Regions from separate parts of the Homo sapiens genome. Here regions 2 and 3 are each linked to region 1. The links are contacts of gene promoters, found by promoter capture Hi-C in blood cells and fetal thymus (Javierre and others, 2016). All regions are on one chromosome and are shown on one strand. The core of a region is centred on a gene start or on the middle of the fragment in contact, and the rest is flanking DNA. Distances in the headings are between cores, read along the strand shown.

The links. The method cuts DNA at HindIII sites, captures the fragments that hold promoters and counts their contacts. A CHiCAGO score of 5 or more calls a contact.
Region 2: a fragment that was not itself captured here is called in contact with the fragment with the promoter of LNCRNA-IUR in region 1 in 1 of 17 cell types (fetal thymus); the score reaches 7.0 in fetal thymus.
Region 3: a contact is called between a fragment that was not itself captured here and the fragment with the promoter of LNCRNA-IUR in region 1, in 17 of 17 cell types (neutrophils, monocytes, naive CD4 T cells and 14 more). The highest score is 12.6, in neutrophils.

What each region holds. Positions count from the first base shown.
Region 1 is chr11:95,149,085-95,151,980 of GRCh38, reverse strand. It overlaps LNCRNA-IUR (lncRNA imatinib upregulated), which reads right to left and starts at 1,442. Exons shown (of 3, transcript NR_110303.1): 1 at 233-1,442. RefSeq lists a silencer at 213-322 and enhancers at 843-972, 573-1,114, 1,115-1,656. The HindIII fragment of the contact is 7,632 bases long and covers 1-2,896 here.
Region 2 is chr11:94,614,464-94,617,359 of GRCh38, reverse strand. It overlaps PIWIL4 (piwi like RNA-mediated gene silencing 4), which reads right to left. Exons shown (of 20, transcript NM_152431.3): 16 at 797-867. The region is part of intron 4 of PIWIL4-AS1 (PIWIL4 antisense RNA 1); the gene reads left to right. Among named protein-coding and RNA genes, the nearest start is that of LINC02700, 22 kb to the left of the region's middle. The HindIII fragment of the contact is 4,774 bases long and covers 1-2,896 here.
Region 3 is chr11:95,676,619-95,679,514 of GRCh38, reverse strand. No RefSeq gene overlaps it. Among named protein-coding and RNA genes, the nearest start is that of FAM76B, 110 kb to the left of the region's middle. The HindIII fragment of the contact is 1,921 bases long and covers 414-2,334 here.

The DNA of each region.
Region 1 (2,896 bases), core at 193-2,692:
ACAGTTCTCAGGAGAAGGAATAAAAGCACAGCCACCTCCTCAGCAGAGCCAGTTTACACTCTGCTAGAGACAAGAGGAGCTGGGACCTTCTCCCCTAACCCTTACTGCATATGTGAGAGAAGCCAGACCTGCTGGATCGACTGGAAATGCCCAGTGCCTGAGACGGGGAGGAAAGAGAAGCCGTGGGGAGGAAAAGACTGTAAACCTAAAAGGCATTGAAGTCCCACCTCACCAGTTAGGCAGGGAGGAGAAAGAGGCCTAGGGCGCTCGGGAACTTGGAATAAGGTTGCCCTCTGCGGGTGAAACTGTGAAATATCTCACAGTGGAGGAGGGCGGAGACTGTTCGCAGAGGGGCCCGGCGAAAACGTCACCCTACTGGAGGTACGAACGCATCGCAGACTGGGGGCGCCCGAGCGCATCCCAGACGCGAGGGCAAAGGCCCAGGAGGACTGTGGGGCTCTCGGAAGTATCCGATCACCTTGCGAGGAGTCCGCCGGCTGTCCGAGCCTGATGTCACTGCAACTTCGATTCCTCCGACGCCCCTACTCTTACTTCCCAGTCTTCAGGCAACTTCTCCGCTTCGGCCTCCCCTAGGCCTTGGCCCCAGAGAGGGGACGCACTCCACAGGTGGATTCGCACGTGTGGGCCCTCGGCAGCACTTTCTCGTGCAAATTAACAGGTGGCCCTCATTGTGGAAGCACCGCCCAGCCTTTCCCGGGGAGGTCACCAGGGCGAGGCCGCTCAAGGTCTGCAGGCGCCCGGCGTTAGCGGGATCCTCCCCGCGCACTGGTCCGAGGAGGCCAGGAGAGGGCGAACCAGTCCCCGACCAGCGGCCCTTCCGGGGGTGGGCTCTGACCCCACCGAGCGGTTAGAGGGTCCAGGAGCTCCAAAGGGTAGGGCAGAATTGGGTAGATGAGGGTGCATTTTTCTGGGAGGAGTCTAAGGCGTCGCTGACTCTCAAAGGCCCGCATCCGGAGAAAGGGAAAGAGCCCCGTCCCGGGAGGAAGGACGAGAGGCTGGCCCGCGGGAAGGAGCCCTGGCAGTCCCTCCTGGCCTAGGTCTACCTCTTTGATCTCACCGTCCCCGTGGCGGCGAGTGCCACCAAAGATGAGAGAGGCCAGCAGGTATCGGGAGAGAGCTGAGGGGTCGGCGCCGGCGGGACCCCAGATTGGAGCCGCCGTCGTCGGACGGGCAGACCCTGCTGTAATAGCTCCCGGCCGGCCACGGTAGGCAGGTGGGGCCCACCGCGAGTCCTAGTGAAAAACACCTTCCTCTTGATTCTCTCAAAGGAACCCGAGCCCTGGGAAGGGACATCAAGGCGCTCCCGAGACTCCGGAGACGGCCAACAGCCCCAAAAGAGAGTACTCGGCTATCCAGCCGCCCTTATCCAAGCGGAGAATCTCTCTCCACCTCCGCCCTCCCGGGACTCAAAGTTGTTTGTGGAGCCTCCAGGTTTCCTTGTAGATGGGCACGATATGCACTGTGTGCGCGCGCGCGCACACACACACACACACACACACACACACACACACACACGTATATGTATTTTTCCAGTGGCCACTGCAGGATTGCCAGCTTTCGGAAATGAGCATCCGCTCTCTCTCTCGGGACTGGGCGTGGGGTTCACCGAAAGGAGAGGAAGAGACCTTGCGTTTGCGCTGGGCCTGCTCGATGCCAGGCCATTCTAGGCTTCTGTCTATCCTGGTTTCTGGTCTGTGCGTTGTGGGTAGCAGCATTGGCGTATTACGCCGGAGGGAGCAGGCTGAGCGAGGCTCCAGAAGGTGCGCAATAGCCGGAGAGGAAAGGGCGATGCTGTCACCTAGCCCCCTCCCTGAGACTCCATTCAGCCCAGAAAAAGGAGCTGCTTTCTCCCCCATCTACCCTAGGAGAAAATAAACGGTCGCTGGCATTTTCCTGCGTCTTTTAATTTTGCCAGAACTGTTTTGGGTTGGCTATTGTGGGCCAGGATGGAGGCCTTCTCCTCCCGGGAGCAAACCTGCCCACGCCCAGGCCGGCAGTGGAGTCAGCCTTGCCCCAGCCTGCCCTCCAGGGAAACAATGCCCCTTTGTCCCTCGCCCTCCCGGGGCTGATACAGCCCCTCCCCTTAGCTTAGGGCTCCCTCCCGTTAGAGCATTCCAATGATTGCCACAAGTCACACTTTTCTTTGAGGTCTCTGCCTGGGAAGAAAACAAAGCAGCCCTCCTAATCACACGGAGGGAGTGGAACTTTTCCTGCCCTCTGACTATGTGCCAGCCTTGGCTCCTCCCTGAAGCCCTGTCTAGAGGGCTTATTAGGTCACTTATGTTTTGTACCTCGTGTGAAGTCCCACAATCAGTAGATTATAGAGGGGAGCACAAACCCAGCAGTGTCTGACATAGAGAAATTACACATACATACATACACACATACATACATACATACACACACACACATACACACATACATATACATACATACATACATACATACACACACATACATACACACATACATACACACATACACATACATACATACATACATATATACATACATATATATAGTCTTTCCACCACCCAGGATTGAAAATTAATGCTGTTTTTGACATTGTCCGTTATCCACCCAAACCCTCCAAAAAGGCTGGCTGGCATTTGCTTGGCTCTAGTTCTACCTGCCCACCTTCTCCTTTGCCTAATCCTGAGTTTTCCCCTTCCCCACGTGTGTTCCCCTTGAGCACTTTTTTGCTAACTTCCTGCATGCTACTGTCATCTCAGAGACTGATTCCTGGGGAGCCCAACCTGTAACATGGAGCTCAGTGGAAAGCACATGGAATGTGGACTGAGACATGACTGTGTTCAAACCCTGGCTCTGTCGCTAAGTGGTTACTTGGTTTGGGGCAAGGCATTTAATCCCTCTA
Region 2 (2,896 bases), core at 185-2,684, 530 kb after region 1:
AAAAAATTACCTGCTAAAAAAATTTACCAGGTTTCGATGTGAGGGGAATATAATAGAATGCAATAATTATTTTCATGTATATATTGCATAGTTATTTTAAGAGTTTATTGTTTAGGAAATTCATTTTAGTTTGATAGAAGGTAATCATATATATAAGTCCATTACCAACATGTATAAGCAAATTCATTTTTTAAGAAAAAATATTTACAATACTCCCAAATTTACAGATGGGAAAATGCAGATCAGGAGAGGGAAGGGTTTGTACAAGTCACACTGCTAGGAAATAGCAAAGCCAGACCTAGGCCAGGAGTGGTGAAGAAACAGAAACCTTAGATTTGTCTTTGCATTGCATCCTGCTATGGATAGGGCACCTTTCCTCATCTGCTGTCTTTCCCTTCTTCTCTTGCTTTGCCACTTTATCTGTTAGCACCCCTATCCTAGCCCTATAGGCTTCCCTCCTAGGTCTACACTTAACATTGCTCTGTCATAACTCGAGTTCCTCCAGGGTTGGTTTCTTTTGACCTTCAAACTGCTTGTCAGGGAAACCAGCAGCCACAAATTTTCCTTCCTTCTGGCTTCATGTTATCACACACAGACAAATGTAAATGTAAATGCTACATAGTCTGATTGTTGGCCTAAATCGGCATGCAGCTTCAGAGATCTTCAACTGGGTGACAGTTGACAAAGACAGGTGTAGAGAGTTTGCTCTGACCTATGTGGTCTTCTATAAGCATGTGGATTTGAGGTCTGAAGGAACAGTCCTTGGAGCCCACCCACATTGCTATATTTTTAGTACCAGTCATGAAAACTTTCAAGCAATCTGCAACATCAGTCATTGTTCTCTGAAGGATACAGCGGGAAAACCACCTAAAGTTAAAAAAAAAAATAAAAGTAAAATTCAACTTCAATTTTTCTACCATAAATATTCATTAATATTAAATTAAGAAACAGAGATTATGAGTAAAAATCAATGTTCGCAATTTTGTATGTGTTATGTGTTCACAATTATATCAAAGAGACCCTTTACCCAAAAAGAATTTATTGAGAACAGAAGCTAAACATAGTGTTGGCATCAGCCATATCGAGCTTCAAATCCTAGTCAATATACTCACCAGCTGTGTAACTTTGCTATGTGAACCTAAGTCTCAGTTTCCTCATCTGTACCAAGGAGATTTACAAGGTAAGTAGATTAGTTACTACCTCATAGGGTTGTGGTAAAAATTAAATCACATGATATTTGTAAAATATTTAGCATAGTACTTTGCATATAGTAAAGAGTAATAGAGGCCACTATTATTGTTATAAATTAATGTACTAATTTAGCAATAGAGCTTCTACTGTCAAAATATTCAAAGATTTCTGAAGCATAAACTTTCATTTCTATAGGTGATCCTTTTGGATTAGAAATCTTAACATTATTGTGTAGATTTCAGAAACAAGTTCTCTTACTACCACCATTAATTAACTTAAAGCACTTGGAAATGAAGATCATGACTTTGTGTTAGGTATGTTCCAGCATTATTATACCTCTCTAAATATATGCAACAACAGTAATACAGCTACATGTGGTGGCGCGTGCCTATAGTCACAGCTACTTGGGAGGCTGAGGTAGGAGGACTGCTTGAGCCCATGAGTTCAAGGCTGTATTGTGCTATCACTGTGCCTGTGAATAGCCACTGCACTCCAGCCTGGGCAACAAAGCAAGACCCCATCTCTAAACATTTTGTTTTTTTGTAAAAAACAACAACAAAACAAAAAAAACAGAACACAATTAGGAATGCTGCCAACAAACTAGAAGTCCTGAGTGATATTAGCAAGGTGGAAGAATAGGAGCTTTCTACCATCATTTCCCTTCCAGAAGCATCAATTTTGACAATTACCCATGGATGAGACTAACTCCAATGGTGACGTTCCAGCACATCACTGGAGTAAAACATCAGAGAATGGATGCATTAAAGAGGGTAACACAAAGAGATTCACTTTACCTGCATTGCTCCTCCCCTACGGAGGGCACAGCTCAGTGCCATGACAGATCACATCAGCCCATGATTTCTCTTACAGGGTGAAAATTAGAGTGTAGTGAGTGAGTACCCAGCTCCCTCACCCATTCAGGATACTGCCTAGGATGCCCACTTTTTTCTTGCCTCAACCAGAACAACAAGATTATCAGCACAGCTGGGAGGTTAGGAGAGTCTGGGGGCAGGAAAGAGTGGCTGCAAACCCTACTGACTGCTCTATGAGCTTCATCAAGAGGCCCTCCTGTGGGTTTCTTAGGATACCTTGCCTATGGAGCACCTCAACTGACTCACAGGCACCCCAAATGCTACATGTATCTCACCACCACCCCTGACCAGGCTGGCTCCCCAACCACATTTGTTCAGATGTTGAGTGCAAGCATTTCACACAAACAGATAGCTTGACTCTTCAGGATTTGGAGAAGGTACACAAAATGAGCATTTCAGGGCACCACCCTAGGGAAAACAGATGAGAGCCTCTTGACAGCTGGCCTGGCTTTGTGGGATTGAGAAAGTGCATGCAATTTTAAGGATCCCCCCACCAAGTGAGAACCAGAAGTGTGGAGTGGGCACATGAATAGAAAACGTGTAAGAGAGCCTCAGAATCCCTAGCTGGGCTGACTGTTAAAGGTTTTTCTCTCCCAAAGATAGCCAATAAAGACTGGAAGAAATGACTGATTCTTCAAATGCAAAGACAGCAATGCAAAACTTCAAGAAACATGAAAAATCAGGAACTGACCGGGTGCAGTGGTTCATGCCTGTAACCCCAGCACTTTTAGAGGCCGAGGAGGGAGGATCACCTGAAGTCAGGAGTTCAAGACCAGCCTGCCCAACATGGTGAAACCCTGACTCTACTAAAAATACACAAAATTAGCTGGGCA
Region 3 (2,896 bases), core at 125-2,624, 530 kb before region 1:
TGGGGCAGAATTCCCTCTTCCTTTGGGATCTCTGTCTGTTTATTCTTAAGGCCATCAACTGATCAGATGAGGCCCATTCATGTTATAGAAGGTAATCGGCCTTACTCAAAGTTTACTGATTTAAATGTGTAATTGACTTAAATCTCATCTAAAAGTAGCTTAACGAAAAGCATTTAGACTTGTGTTTGACCAAATGTCTGAGTACAATGGCCTAGGCAAGTTGACACGTAAAATTAACCATCACGTCAAGTAACTGATGTTCATGAGTGACACACTCCCTCAAACTAGACCGAGTGAGTGTTGTGTCTCCTGAGGGCCAAAGTCCTCTTTGCTGTTTCCCAGTAAAGAACCAAGAATGGTGAGGAAATAATGCCAACAGTGAACAGGATAGAGAGAGGCTTATTCTAAAAGCTTGAGTCAGAGTGGTCTAGAATGAGATATTTTATTTTAAGGAGACCAGATATTGTCTAGTAAGGTTGATGGTTACCACCCAGCTTCAAAAACTATCAGAGCTGGGGTGGACCCTATAGTTTTCTAGCTCTGCCCCTTCTACAGAAAGATGAAGTGAAGGGACTGAGGCCCAAGCCAAAGGCCTTCTTTAAAGAAAGACTGAGGGAAGTCAAGTCCTCTGAGTCCTTGTCCAATGCCACTGATTTTAAAATACTGAATTCCATGGGACTCTTCAGTGACATTCTGGGGCTGGCCATTCACTGGTGATATAACGCAGTCAGGCAGATCTTAATGGAAGGGGAGTCATTAGAGGATCTGGCTAATTGACTATTTGAATTAACAATGTCTTCAGTTGGAAAACTAATGAGAAACAAGGGGTGTTGGAAAAGGGTCTGGCTGAGCTTTATTTTGTGTACAGACTAAAATGAGGTTTTCCCTAAATGACTATTTTCTTTACCAGAATCACTGTTCACATGGCAATCTAAAAATTTCTAAATATTAGCTAAACTAAGATGTTAATAGTTGAGAAATTAGGAAAAGTGTGATAAAAGCCTATATATAATTTTTAGGGCTGAGAAAATTATTTAGAAACCACTGTAAACAAGTGTTTTTGAGTCTGTATATAAGATTACTGAGTTATTCAACTCTATTTCATGCCACATAGCAACACTGGTCTTTTTTTCCCTATATATTTATTGATCATTTATGTTTCTTTCATGTGACTTTCTTACTTATGGCTTTTCTTAAAAAAAACTAAGAAGTAAAAATTGTACATTTTTATGGCATACAATGTGATATGTGTGTGTGGGTGTATATGTATATTTATATGTATGTATATACACACCCATGCACACATTGTGGAAAGATTAAATCAGCCATTTATCATACGCATGATACCTCACATACTTATCTTTTTTGTTTGGTGAGAGCACTTAAACTCTACTGTACTAGCAATTTTCAAGTACACTGCATATTGCTGTTAACTACAGTCATCATGATGTACAATATATCTCTTGAACTTATTCCCCCTAACTGAAATTTTGTGTTCTTTGACCAGCATCTCCCCAGTCCCCCACCTTATGGCCTCTGATAACCACAATTTTCTCTCTGTTTCCATGAGAGTGACTTTTTAAGATTCCACATATAAGTAAGATCATGCAGTATTTTTGTCTTTTTATGCCTGGTTTATTTCACTTTTTAATGTCCACCAGATTCATCCATGTTGTCACAAATGACAGAATTTCTTTGTTTTTTAAGGCTATTATTCCACTGTGTACATATACCACATTTTCTTTATCCGTTCATCTGTTGATGGACACTTAGGTTGATTCCATATCTTGGCTATTGTGAATAGTGCTGTGATAAACACGGGAGTGCTGATAGTACTTCAAGACATTGATTTAATATCCTTTGAATATATACCCAGAAGTGAGATTGCTGGATCATATGGTAGTTCTATTCTTAATTTTTTGGGGAATCTCCATATCATTTTCCATAATAGTTGTACTAATTTACATTCTCACCAACAGTGTACAAGAGGTTCCTTTTCTCTACATCATCACCAACACTTGTTATCTTTTGTCTTTTTGACAGCAGCCATTATAACAGGTGTGAAATAACATACCTTTGTGGTTTTAATTTGCATTTCCCTGATGATTAGTGATGTTGAACATATTTTCACATACTTGTTGGCCCTTTGCATGTCTTCTTTTGAGAAATGTCTATTCAGGTCCTTTGCCCATTTTTAATTGGGTTTTTTTTTACTATTGAGTTGTAAGATATATTTCTTATATATTGTGAATATTAACCCCTTATCAGATGTATGATTTGCAAATATACTTTTGTATTTTGTTGGTTGTATCTTCACTGTGTTGAGCAGAAGCTTTTTAGTTTGATGCAATCCCCTTTGTCTAATTTTGCTTTTATTGCCTGGGCTTTTGGGGTGAAATCCAAAAAAATCATCCCCCAGACCAAGATCATGGAGCTTTTTCTCTGTTGCCTTCTAGCAGTTTACACCTTCAGGTCTTACATTTAAGTCTTTCATTCATTTTCAGTTGATTTTTGTAGATAGTGTGAGTTAAGAGTCTAATTTTATTCTTCTGCACGTGGATATCCACGTTTCTCTGCACCATTTATTGAAGAGACTGTCCTTTCCTTATGGTGTGTTTTCGGCATCTTTGTTGAAAATATTCAATTTCTTGAGCATTAAACTCTCTCCTATCTCAAGGCCTCTGTAAACTCTTCCTTCCTTGCCTAGAATCCACTCTGGCTCCTTCTCATTCTCTAGGACTTAGGTTAAATGCCATCTCCATCCTATCTAAATTAGGCCCCAAGTTGTTATTCTCTTTCACACCACCTGTTCTGTTTCCTTCATGGATCTTATCACAATTTGTAATTATATGTCTGTTGGTTGTCTGTCCCCTTGCACCCGACAGTAAGTTCCCTG